2 separate regions of the Homo sapiens genome follow, and region 2 is linked to region 1. The links are contacts of gene promoters, found by promoter capture Hi-C in blood cells and fetal thymus (Javierre and others, 2016). All regions are on one chromosome and are shown on one strand. Each heading gives the region's core, a stretch centred on a gene start or on the middle of the fragment in contact. The rest is flanking DNA. Distances are from core to core; before and after follow the strand shown. Region 1 holds the start of OR5K2 (olfactory receptor family 5 subfamily K member 2). Region 2 has its middle 4.3 kb from the start of GABRR3.

What was found. The method cuts DNA at HindIII sites, captures the fragments that hold promoters and counts their contacts. A CHiCAGO score of 5 or more calls a contact.
Region 2: a contact is called between a fragment that was not itself captured here and the fragment with the promoter of OR5K2 in region 1, in 3 of 17 cell types (total CD8 T cells, total CD4 T cells and naive CD8 T cells). The highest score is 6.7, in total CD8 T cells.

Annotation. Positions count from the first base shown.
Region 1 is chr3:98,495,673-98,500,692 of GRCh38, forward strand. OR5K2 (olfactory receptor family 5 subfamily K member 2) reads left to right here and starts at 2,009. Exons shown (of 1, transcript NM_001004737.1): 1 at 2,009-2,959. The coding sequence starts at 2,009. The coding sequence ends at 2,959. The HindIII fragment of the contact is 17,047 bases long and covers 1-5,020 here.
Region 2 is chr3:98,037,173-98,042,083 of GRCh38, forward strand. No RefSeq gene overlaps it. Among named protein-coding and RNA genes, the nearest start is that of GABRR3, 4.3 kb to the left of the region's middle. RefSeq lists an enhancer at 2,173-2,467. The HindIII fragment of the contact is 1,472 bases long and covers 1,520-2,991 here.

The DNA.
Region 1 (5,020 bases), core at 759-3,258:
TTATGAGTGAGATTATAATGAACATCATTATATGTACATATTTTCTGAAGTTTTAGTTATTTCTTTTTGATGCATTTATTTTTACTGATCAAAAGGTATGAACCTTAAGAGTTTCTTTAATCTATTACCAAATTATTTTCTAATGATTACACCAATTTATACATTTACCAGGAATGCAATTAGGTTGCCATTTTACTATATTCTAGATAACGCTCAATATTATCAGTTTTTTAATCTTATTTTCATATACAAAATAAATATAGCTTCATAGGTGTTTCTGAATGGTGTTTCTCTGATTAGTAATAAAATCAAACATTTTTAATTTACTTAAAAATGTTTTTTTCTTTGAGATTTTTCTATTCCTGGGCTTTACCTATTTTCTAGTAATTATTCCTACTCATTTGTATGAGATCTTATAGCAAAGGTACAGAAACTTTATCAAATTTACTGCAGATAATCTCCCAGTTTGACATTTTATTCATAATTTTTTGATACGTAGTTAGACAACCGAATATATTTTTAACTCAGGATTTCTCCAATTGCTTTTAATAACATTAATTTCTTTATGCACATAAGTAGTTTTACTCATAGTATCACTAGTAACATAGGAGGCTTTTTGGTTTTGGTTTGGTTTTTTTGAGACAGGGTCTCGCTGTGTCACCCAGGCTGGAGTGCAGTGATGCTATTATGGCTCACTGCAGCCCCCATCTCTCAGGCTCAATGAATCCTCTCACCTCAGCCTCCCCAGTAGCTGGCACTACAGGAGCATGTCACAATGCCCTGGTAATTTTATATACTTTATTTTTTTTTTTAAGAGACAGGGCCTCATTATGTTGCCCAGGCTGGTCTGGAACTCCTGGATTCAAGTGATGCTCCCTCCTCAGCCTCCTGAAGTGCTGGGATTACAGGCATAAGCCACTGTGCTCACCAGACTTTTTAAATGCAGTGTTTTGTTTTTTCTCCCAGCTTCCATCCATAACACTTTTACTCCCCAACTCCCAGGAATATAAATATCTTATAAATATTCCCTTTTCCCCCAGAGCATCTTATTTTTAAGTGTATATTCCACTAGTATTGGAGATAGTAATTTGCTGAAATAGGCAGATGAAAATAGTATTTTAAAAATATTTTTATTGGGGTAAATTATACACAACATAACTTTTATCATTTTAGTCATATTTAAGTGTACAGTTCAGTAGCATTAAGTGCATTAATATTGTTGTGGAATGATCACCATCATTTATCTCTAGAACATTTTCATCTTCCTAAACAGAAACACTGTACCCATTAAACAATAGCTCCCAGTAGACCCCTTCCCCTGGCAACTACCATTCAACTTTCTGTCTCTGTAAGTTCGACTACTCTAGCTTTCTCATGTAATTGGAATCATACAATATTTGTCCTTTTGTGTCTGGCTTATTTCAATCAGCCTTATGTCCTCAAGGTTAATCCATGTTGTAACATGTATGAGAATTTCAATCCTTTTTAAGACTGAGTAATATTCCACCACAATTTATTTATCCATTCACCTGTCCATGAACATTTGGGTTGTTTTTACGTTTTGGTTATTGAAGGTAATGCTGCTGTTAACATTAGCATACAAAAATAGTCTTTTAAACACATTGTTAACCACTACATATACAAACATTGAAATCGGGAACACTGGTACCAATTACTGACACTTAAATTACGAATCAGCTTTACCTATACTATATGGAGAAGTTCTGTGCTCTCAATATTTCTCTCAAGACCTCAAAAGTCATCCTTGTGCACCCAATCAGATATTTTTTCAAAATATGATAGAAACATGTTCAACCAATAGCCACAAAAGTAGTAGCCTCAGGAGACTCATTCTCGCAGTGAATTGGGCATGCACCAAATTCCAGGCAAGATGAGGAGACATTGTGGAAGATGCTCTCCTTCTTTTAAGCCAAAGAGACGTCAATAATTGTGGCATATTATTAATTAGTGCCTTATTCCTCTACAATTTTTTTCAGAGAGGTCAGGAATGGTTGAAGAAAATCATACCATGAAAAATGAGTTTATCCTCACAGGATTTACAGATCACCCTGAGCTGAAGACTCTGCTGTTTGTGGTGTTCTTTGCCATCTATCTGATCACCGTGGTGGGGAATATTAGTTTGGTGGCACTGATATTTACACACTGTCGGCTTCACACACCAATGTACATCTTTCTGGGAAATCTGGCTCTTGTGGATTCTTGCTGTGCCTGTGCTATTACCCCCAAAATGTTAGAGAACTTCTTTTCTGAGGGCAAAAGGATTTCCCTCTATGAATGTGCAGTACAGTTTTATTTTCTTTGCACTGTGGAAACTGCAGACTGCTTTCTTCTGGCAGCAGTGGCCTATGACCGCTATGTGGCCATCTGCAACCCACTGCAGTACCACATCATGATGTCCAAGAAACTCTGCATTCAGATGACCACAGGCGCCTTCATAGCTGGAAATCTGCATTCCATGATTCATGTAGGGCTTGTATTTAGGTTAGTTTTCTGTGGATTGAATCACATCAACCACTTTTACTGTGATACTCTTCCCTTGTATAGACTCTCCTGTGTTGACCCTTTCATCAATGAACTGGTTCTATTCATCTTCTCAGGTTCAGTTCAAGTCTTTACCATAGGTAGTGTCTTAATATCTTATCTCTATATTCTTCTTACTATTTTCAGAATGAAATCCAAGGAGGGAAGGGCCAAAGCCTTTTCTACTTGTGCATCCCACTTTTCATCAGTTTCATTATTCTATGGATCTATTTTTTTCCTATACATTAGACCAAATTTGCTTGAAGAAGGAGGTAATGATATACCAGCTGCTATTTTATTTACAATAGTAGTTCCCTTACTAAATCCTTTCATTTATAGTCTGAGAAACAAGGAAGTAATAAGTGTCTTAAGAAAAATTCTGCTGAAAATAAAATCTCAAGGAAGTGTGAACAAATGACATCTATCCTAGCTTAATGGTTTAATGCTCAAAAAACTTCTAAATAAAATTACACAGAGGAAGTGTACTAATTGTATACAAAATATTAAAACATATCAAAATACAATCAAATTAAGCAGAAATATGTGACAGGGAAAATTCATGGAAAGGAGTGAACTGTGCTAAATATTTACTCAGAATTTAAAAGCACATGCAGACATTGAATTCACTCAAGCAGCAATGTAGAAAGCCACCATGCCTATAGACTGTGTTAGTATCAATGATGATCAACACCCAAAACAACAGCAAAACTACCAGTTACAAATATAAAAAGCCATACCATTTACAAAGCGGGCTTTGATAACCAGCCCACTCTATAGCTTACAACATGTGCATTACAGTTAAGTGTTTAAGATCATGTGAACAGTCAACCAACGAACTCACTTATATCCATGAGCAACAAAAATGGCAAGTGAATTTTGAGGAAGAAAATGTAATAGCATGTGGGGGACATTATTGTAGTTAGAATGAGGTAGTCAGGAAGTGATTGTGCCAATAAAAGTGAATATTATATTTCCAAATAGAAGTTGTTGTTAAATGATTTAAACATTTAAATAATTAAAATCAGAATGTCAAATTTCAAGATAGGTTACATTAAGTTTTATTTACTCCAAAACCTACATGCATAAAGATACCATATCATAAAGTTCTAGACAAACATTTCAAACTTCATGTAGATCTGAAGAGCCTTCATTGTCAGTGAGTTAGGCTAAACTTCTCTGTGCCCATTCCTGAGAGGTGAGGAAGGGGTTAAACAATGGAGACACAACCTTTGGGTATATTATATACAGACATGTAAAAAAGTGTGATTGTGGGACTGTGGACAGGGCTTATCTCAAATATTTTCTTTTATTCCTTCACCATTGCAAAACTTAAAGTCGTTTAATATGGATAGAACCTAATAATCTTATGTGACATCATTAAAGAGATACTTTCCAATTATTCACTCTACATATATTTATTGAGATTCTGCTATGTGCAAGCACTGTTCTAGATGCTGAGACATATTAATGACCAAGACACCACTCTTTTCATCTTCTTAAATAATAGAACATTGCCATTATTTTAATTACTAACTTCTGGAACAAGGAGGACCCATAACAAGTAACAGAAAAATTCTCCCTTCCACCTCCTCTCTTGATGCTCTGTGGTCACATCTAAATTTCCAGAAGGCAGTTGTCAGATTGCAGTGGGCCTCAAGCTAGCCAGCCACCAGAGGCTGGCATCACATGGAAAATCAGCATGCTGAGTCTATATAGAAAAGGGAGTAGAAAACAGATATATTTCTAGATATAATTCCCTAAATCATGAATGAAAAACTATAAAAATATAGTGTATATTTGTAACCTCCAAGAAAACCTAACCTAGTTCATTCCAATTATACTCAGACATTTCAGTATTTCCTTGCCTGTTTCAAATTTAAACCCCATCAGTTGAGTTTTTGCCTAATGCACGTCCATCAGCATCACCAAATGTACTTGGATACTTACTATGCGTCCATGTGCTAAGCTGTGTATACACATTACCTCATCCAACCCTCATAAATCCTGTGAAAGAATTGCAATTATTATCCCTTGTGACAGGTGAGAATATGAAGCACAGTATGGTTGAGTCACTTGTTCAGTGACCCACAGGAGTCTGCATGACCTGAACCCCAGGCTGCCTGACTACAAAAACTACATTCTCAATTATTACATAAGAAATCACAAAAGGTCACCCAGAGATTGCACAGAATCGTTTATCCCACGCAATGCAGAACAGCATAGTGTTCTTTGGAAAATTAATTTTAAGAAATTTAAATATCAGGAGAATTTTTATTTAAAATTTTTATTAAAAATTTTTATAAAAGCAAAAATTGACTTTTCTTGAAAAAGTGGCAACAATTCTTATGTCACCTCCCTGGCCCCTCTGAACATTTAAATTTATAACTTTGCATCTTTGCATTAAAAACTACTGCCTCTCATCATACTTCATTATTTCAGTGCTTACTTACAGTAAAAATATTTACCAAGTTGTAGTTGT
Region 2 (4,911 bases), core at 1,006-3,505, 460 kb before region 1:
CTGGATATCTATATGGCTAACTCCCTTAACAAATTCAAATGTATGCTAAAATGTCATCTATTGAATGAAGTATACCCTGACCACTCTTTTTAAAAATACCGTATTCTTTCTTTCCTCCTACAACCTGTGTTACCAATCTACCTTTCATCCTGCTTAGCATGTTTTATATAATTTACATTATGTTTATTGTTCATAATCTGTCTTATCCGGCTAGAATGTAAGCTCTGCAAGGAAGTGATCTTTGTTTTGTTCCCTGAGGCATCCCAAACACTTATAATTATCTTTGAAGTATAGTTGGTATTAGTAAATATTTCTTAAATAATGAATGAATATTAACACGTTCAAGGCTTCAGTTGAAAAAAAAAAAGCCTGCTTTGTTCTGCTGAATTCTGTGTCTCTCAAACTTATTTGATCTCAGATCCCATTTTAAAACAAAACAAGACAAAACAAAACAAAACAAAACAAAAGAAAACCACGATACTTACATTCTCCCAAAATAGTACTCCTCCATGACAGCCAGTTCTCATTCATAGGTAAATCAGTGAGATTCTCATTTATAGGCAAATTGGTGCTTTGCACATTCTCCTTACCAAAATTCTGTGTCCTATCATCTTGAGACAACCTTTGATGACTGCTAAACTTTTACGTTCGCAAAGAAATATTGGTAGCTGATAAAGAATAAGCAAGATTGAAGAGGAGACTTCACGAAGTGGTCTTTGATCTGAAGGAATGAAGCACTGGAATAGAAGATGTCCTCTTTACAGGACTCAGTGGAGCTATTTGGGGCACTTATTTTTCGGAAATATCTGTCAAGTCATATGCCTCCTCACTGTCACTTAAATTATGTTAGGATGCCCTGGTGTCTCCTTCTGCATCGCAGGGATGAATCATGATGAGAATCTGTCTGACCTCTTTACTGAATAATCTTTGCTAGACTATCTATATCGCTATAAACATTAAGGAAGAAATAAAAGCAGTTTGTTTTTTGATGATGAATTTTAAGTGGGAAATGGTCTGCATAAAAATAAAAATAAGGCAATGGCTTACACTAGAGAGAGTTGACTTACAGAAAGTCTAAGGGTTTTAGTTCAATTACAAGAAGGCATCTGCCTCTGTTGATGCTGAGTTAGCTCCTTAACCTTATTCCTTTAGAGCTTCCCTTTGCAAGCTCAGTAAGCTTCTTAAGAAAAAAAAAAAAAGCAGAAAAGCACATCTGTCAGAACTAGAAAGTGGTAACTACCAGGAAACAAAATGAATCACAGGGTCACTGGAGAATTTCGTAGTAGTTTAAGCTCTCCCTTGCATAAATTGTCTCCTGTTTACTCTTCTTCCACTCTGATGATGTCAGTCAGCCAGTTTTTATTTCTTTGGCAGCGACATAAAGAGAAAATTTGGAAAGGATGGCTGTGTCGCCAATCTTGGGGTATGTAGCCATTATTTTGCCTATAAAGAGAAAACAAAAGAAAAGCTAAGGTCTTATTTAGACTGGATCTGACAACAGCAACAACAACAAATTCCAAGCTTCTATAAATTTCCCACTGTGTCTGCAGGATGTCATCTAGGCAAAATATCTTGATTTGCAAATTGTAGAGTCATAAAATCTTAATAGGGAAAGACTTTTGGAAATCATTTAGACTACATTTAATGTCTCTCCTGCTCTCTTTTATGCAGAGGAAGCTAGGACTAGAGAGGTTAAGTGATCAACTAATTTAGTTTTCATATTTACAGTCATGTGCTGCACAACGACGTTTTGGTCAGTGATGGACCACATATATGACTGCAGTTCTCCAATAAGCTAAGGTTAATTTATTATTGAAGAAAGAAAAATATTTTGTATAAATTTAGTATAGCCTAAGTGTACAGTTGACAGTAGTGTACAGTCATGTCTTGGGCTTTCACACTCAGTCACCCAGAACAACTCACTAACTCACCCAGAACAACTTTCAGTCCTGTTAACTCCATTCATGGTAAGTGCCCTATACAATTCATCTTTTATACTGCATTTTAACTGAACCTTTTCTATTTTGTCTATGTTTATACATGTTTAGATACACAAATACGTACCATTGTGTTACAATTGCCTATAGTATTTGGTATAATAACGTGCTGTATAGGTTTGTGGCCTAGGAGTAATATCATATAGCATAGGTGTGCAGTAGGCTAGACCATAGAGTTTTGTGTAAGTATACTCTACAATGTTTGCACAATGAGGAAATCACCTAACAACGCATTTCTCTGAGTTTGTCCCCGTCATCAAATTGCGCGTAACTGTTTTGCTTTGATGCATTGGAAATATAACTGGCCATGCCTAGAGCAGCCAGTAGGGGGCATTTGCTATCCTTCCAAAAAACCCTGCTCTCACTCAGAAATCCTGTTTCCTCTCCAGTTCCCAGAATTACCAGATAACCAGTAGATCATCGTTTTTTCATACCCAGTAGACCATCGTCCCCCCCACGACCCTTGTTTCAGTCTCTTATCACATCCTTCCTGGCATACAGAATCAGCTGTGATACGAGTGAGGACACCTGAAGAATCTTGCTCTGTTTTACAGGCAAGAGGATGACACTAAAGCAAAGCAGTCTTCATCATCGTGTAATAGCGCAAGACCACCACTAGATGGAAGCATAGGATACACATTCTCATCCAAATTACTATTGTCTCGAATTTGCCTCCTTAGGAAAACTTTCTTATGTAGTATTGGTAAATGCAAATTATTCAGCACTTGTAGTGAATAATTTTCACTTACCAATACTGGCAGAATGAACTGAAAAGATTAATGATATAATACCAAATGATTCAGATAAAAAACCCACACACCCCGTTATTGAGGAAAATGCAATTATTTACCTCGAATAATTGACTAATGAGGTTTATTGGTTTCTCTGATTGAACACTAATTTATTTTTAAGATTTCACTTTTTACCTACACCTAAGAACAGCATTTTGTTTGTGGGAACGGTAAGAGACAGAGGTGAACATTGTAGAAAAATAAGCTTTCTATTAGAATGAAGTACCTGTTATGAGTAAAGTTTCTAAAGGGCACTAAATAAAACACTAGGGCACATGGCTCTGGGACTGGATATGGTACTTACTGCATGATTTTTAAAAAGTTTCTTAAACTTCCTGGACTTCAATTTCCTCTTCTGTATTCATTAAGCACATGTATGTAGGTGACTTTTGAGACCCCTGAGGAAGCAATAAAACACAGTGGTTAAGAAGAGACAATAGCGATAATCTTTATTGGGATATTTGGTGTCAGTTTTTGTGGGTACAAACATCTATTCTTCCATTTACTACTTGTCTGAACATTGAAAATGACCTAAGATTTTTTGTTGAGTCAGTTACTTTATATATAGTTAAGAGGAATAATACTAGGACCTATCTTTTAAGGTTAAAGTCAGAATTTATGAGACTGTATGTTTAGCACAATGTTTGATACATTGAAGATACCATAATTGACAAAATTAATATCAGCTATCAATCTCATGCATCTTTATTAATGTAGTATGATCTTCCAATGTTATGAATTTCATTAAGATTACCAATAAGGTCCCTGTTTTCCAGGATTGAGATTTTGAGTCATCTTTAATTACTCCCTTTCAAAATCTTTCTTCGTTTTTTGCTTCAGAGCTACTTTTGCATTTTCCTGCCCTTTGTATTTCCATTGCCACCTGACCTTTTTGTCTCTAATATTAATATATCTCCCTGGGCTCCAGTGCTGCCACTGCTATGCATGCACCTACTTTCTGGGCCCTGGTACCATTGAGAAATATGCCCATATTTCTCAGAGAAGACTCCATCTGTGGGAGAAATGGAGAACAGAAGGGCCCAAGAAACTATTGCTGCTGCCATGGACACCCACAAATTTTGCCATCAAGTGCCCCCATAGTATTTGCTGACACTGACCTCAGCTGATGCAGCTGTTAGAATTTCATACCAATGCACCACCTTAGAGTAGAAGCTGCTGCACCCCATCTGACCAGCACCCTTGTACCCATCTGTGGTGAAGATCTTTCCCAACTGAAGCCTATCTGTAAGGTCTGGAAGAGGTAACTCCTTGTTCAAATACACACACATCAAAGCAAGGCTACAAAGAACTGGAAAAATCAAGAAAACATGATAACACTAAAGGAATACAAAAAAATCCACTAATGAATCCCTAAGAAATGAAGATCTACAAATTTCCTGACAAAGAATTAAAAATAATTGTTTTAAACAAGCTCAGCAAGCTACAAAATAACAGATTGGTAACTTAGTGGAATCAGGAAAATAATATATGAAAAAAATGAGAAGTTGAACAAAGAGATGAAAATCATTAAAAAGAACCAAAGAGCAGTTCTGGAGCTAAAGAATACAATGAGTGGAATGAAAAATGCAAAAGAGGGTTTCAACAGCACACAGTTAAGCGGAAGAATCTGCAAATTCAAAGAGAGATCATTTAAAATTATCCAGTCAGAGAAGAAAAGAAAAAAATAATGAAAAAGGGTGAAGAAAGCCTATGGGATTTATGGAATACCATCAAGTAAACCAATAAATGCATTATGGAATTTTAAGGAAAACAGACAGAAAAAGGGAGCAGAAAGCTAATTTAAATAATAATGACTAAAACCTTCCTAATTTGGGGAAGATTTGGAAATTGTGAATCCAGATTCAAGAATCTCAAATGTTTCCAAATAGGTTCAACTTAAAAGAGAACATACTGAGATACATTGTAATAAAATTGTCAAAAGTTAAGGACAAAGAGACTTTTAAGGGAAGCAACTCATCCTATGTAAAGAAAACCCTGTGATACCACTAGTGGATTTCTCAGCAGAAACCTTGCAGGCCTGGAGAGAGTGAGATGACATATTTGTAGTACTGAAAGAAAAAAAAACATACTGGTTAGCAAAAATACCATTCCCAGAAAAATTA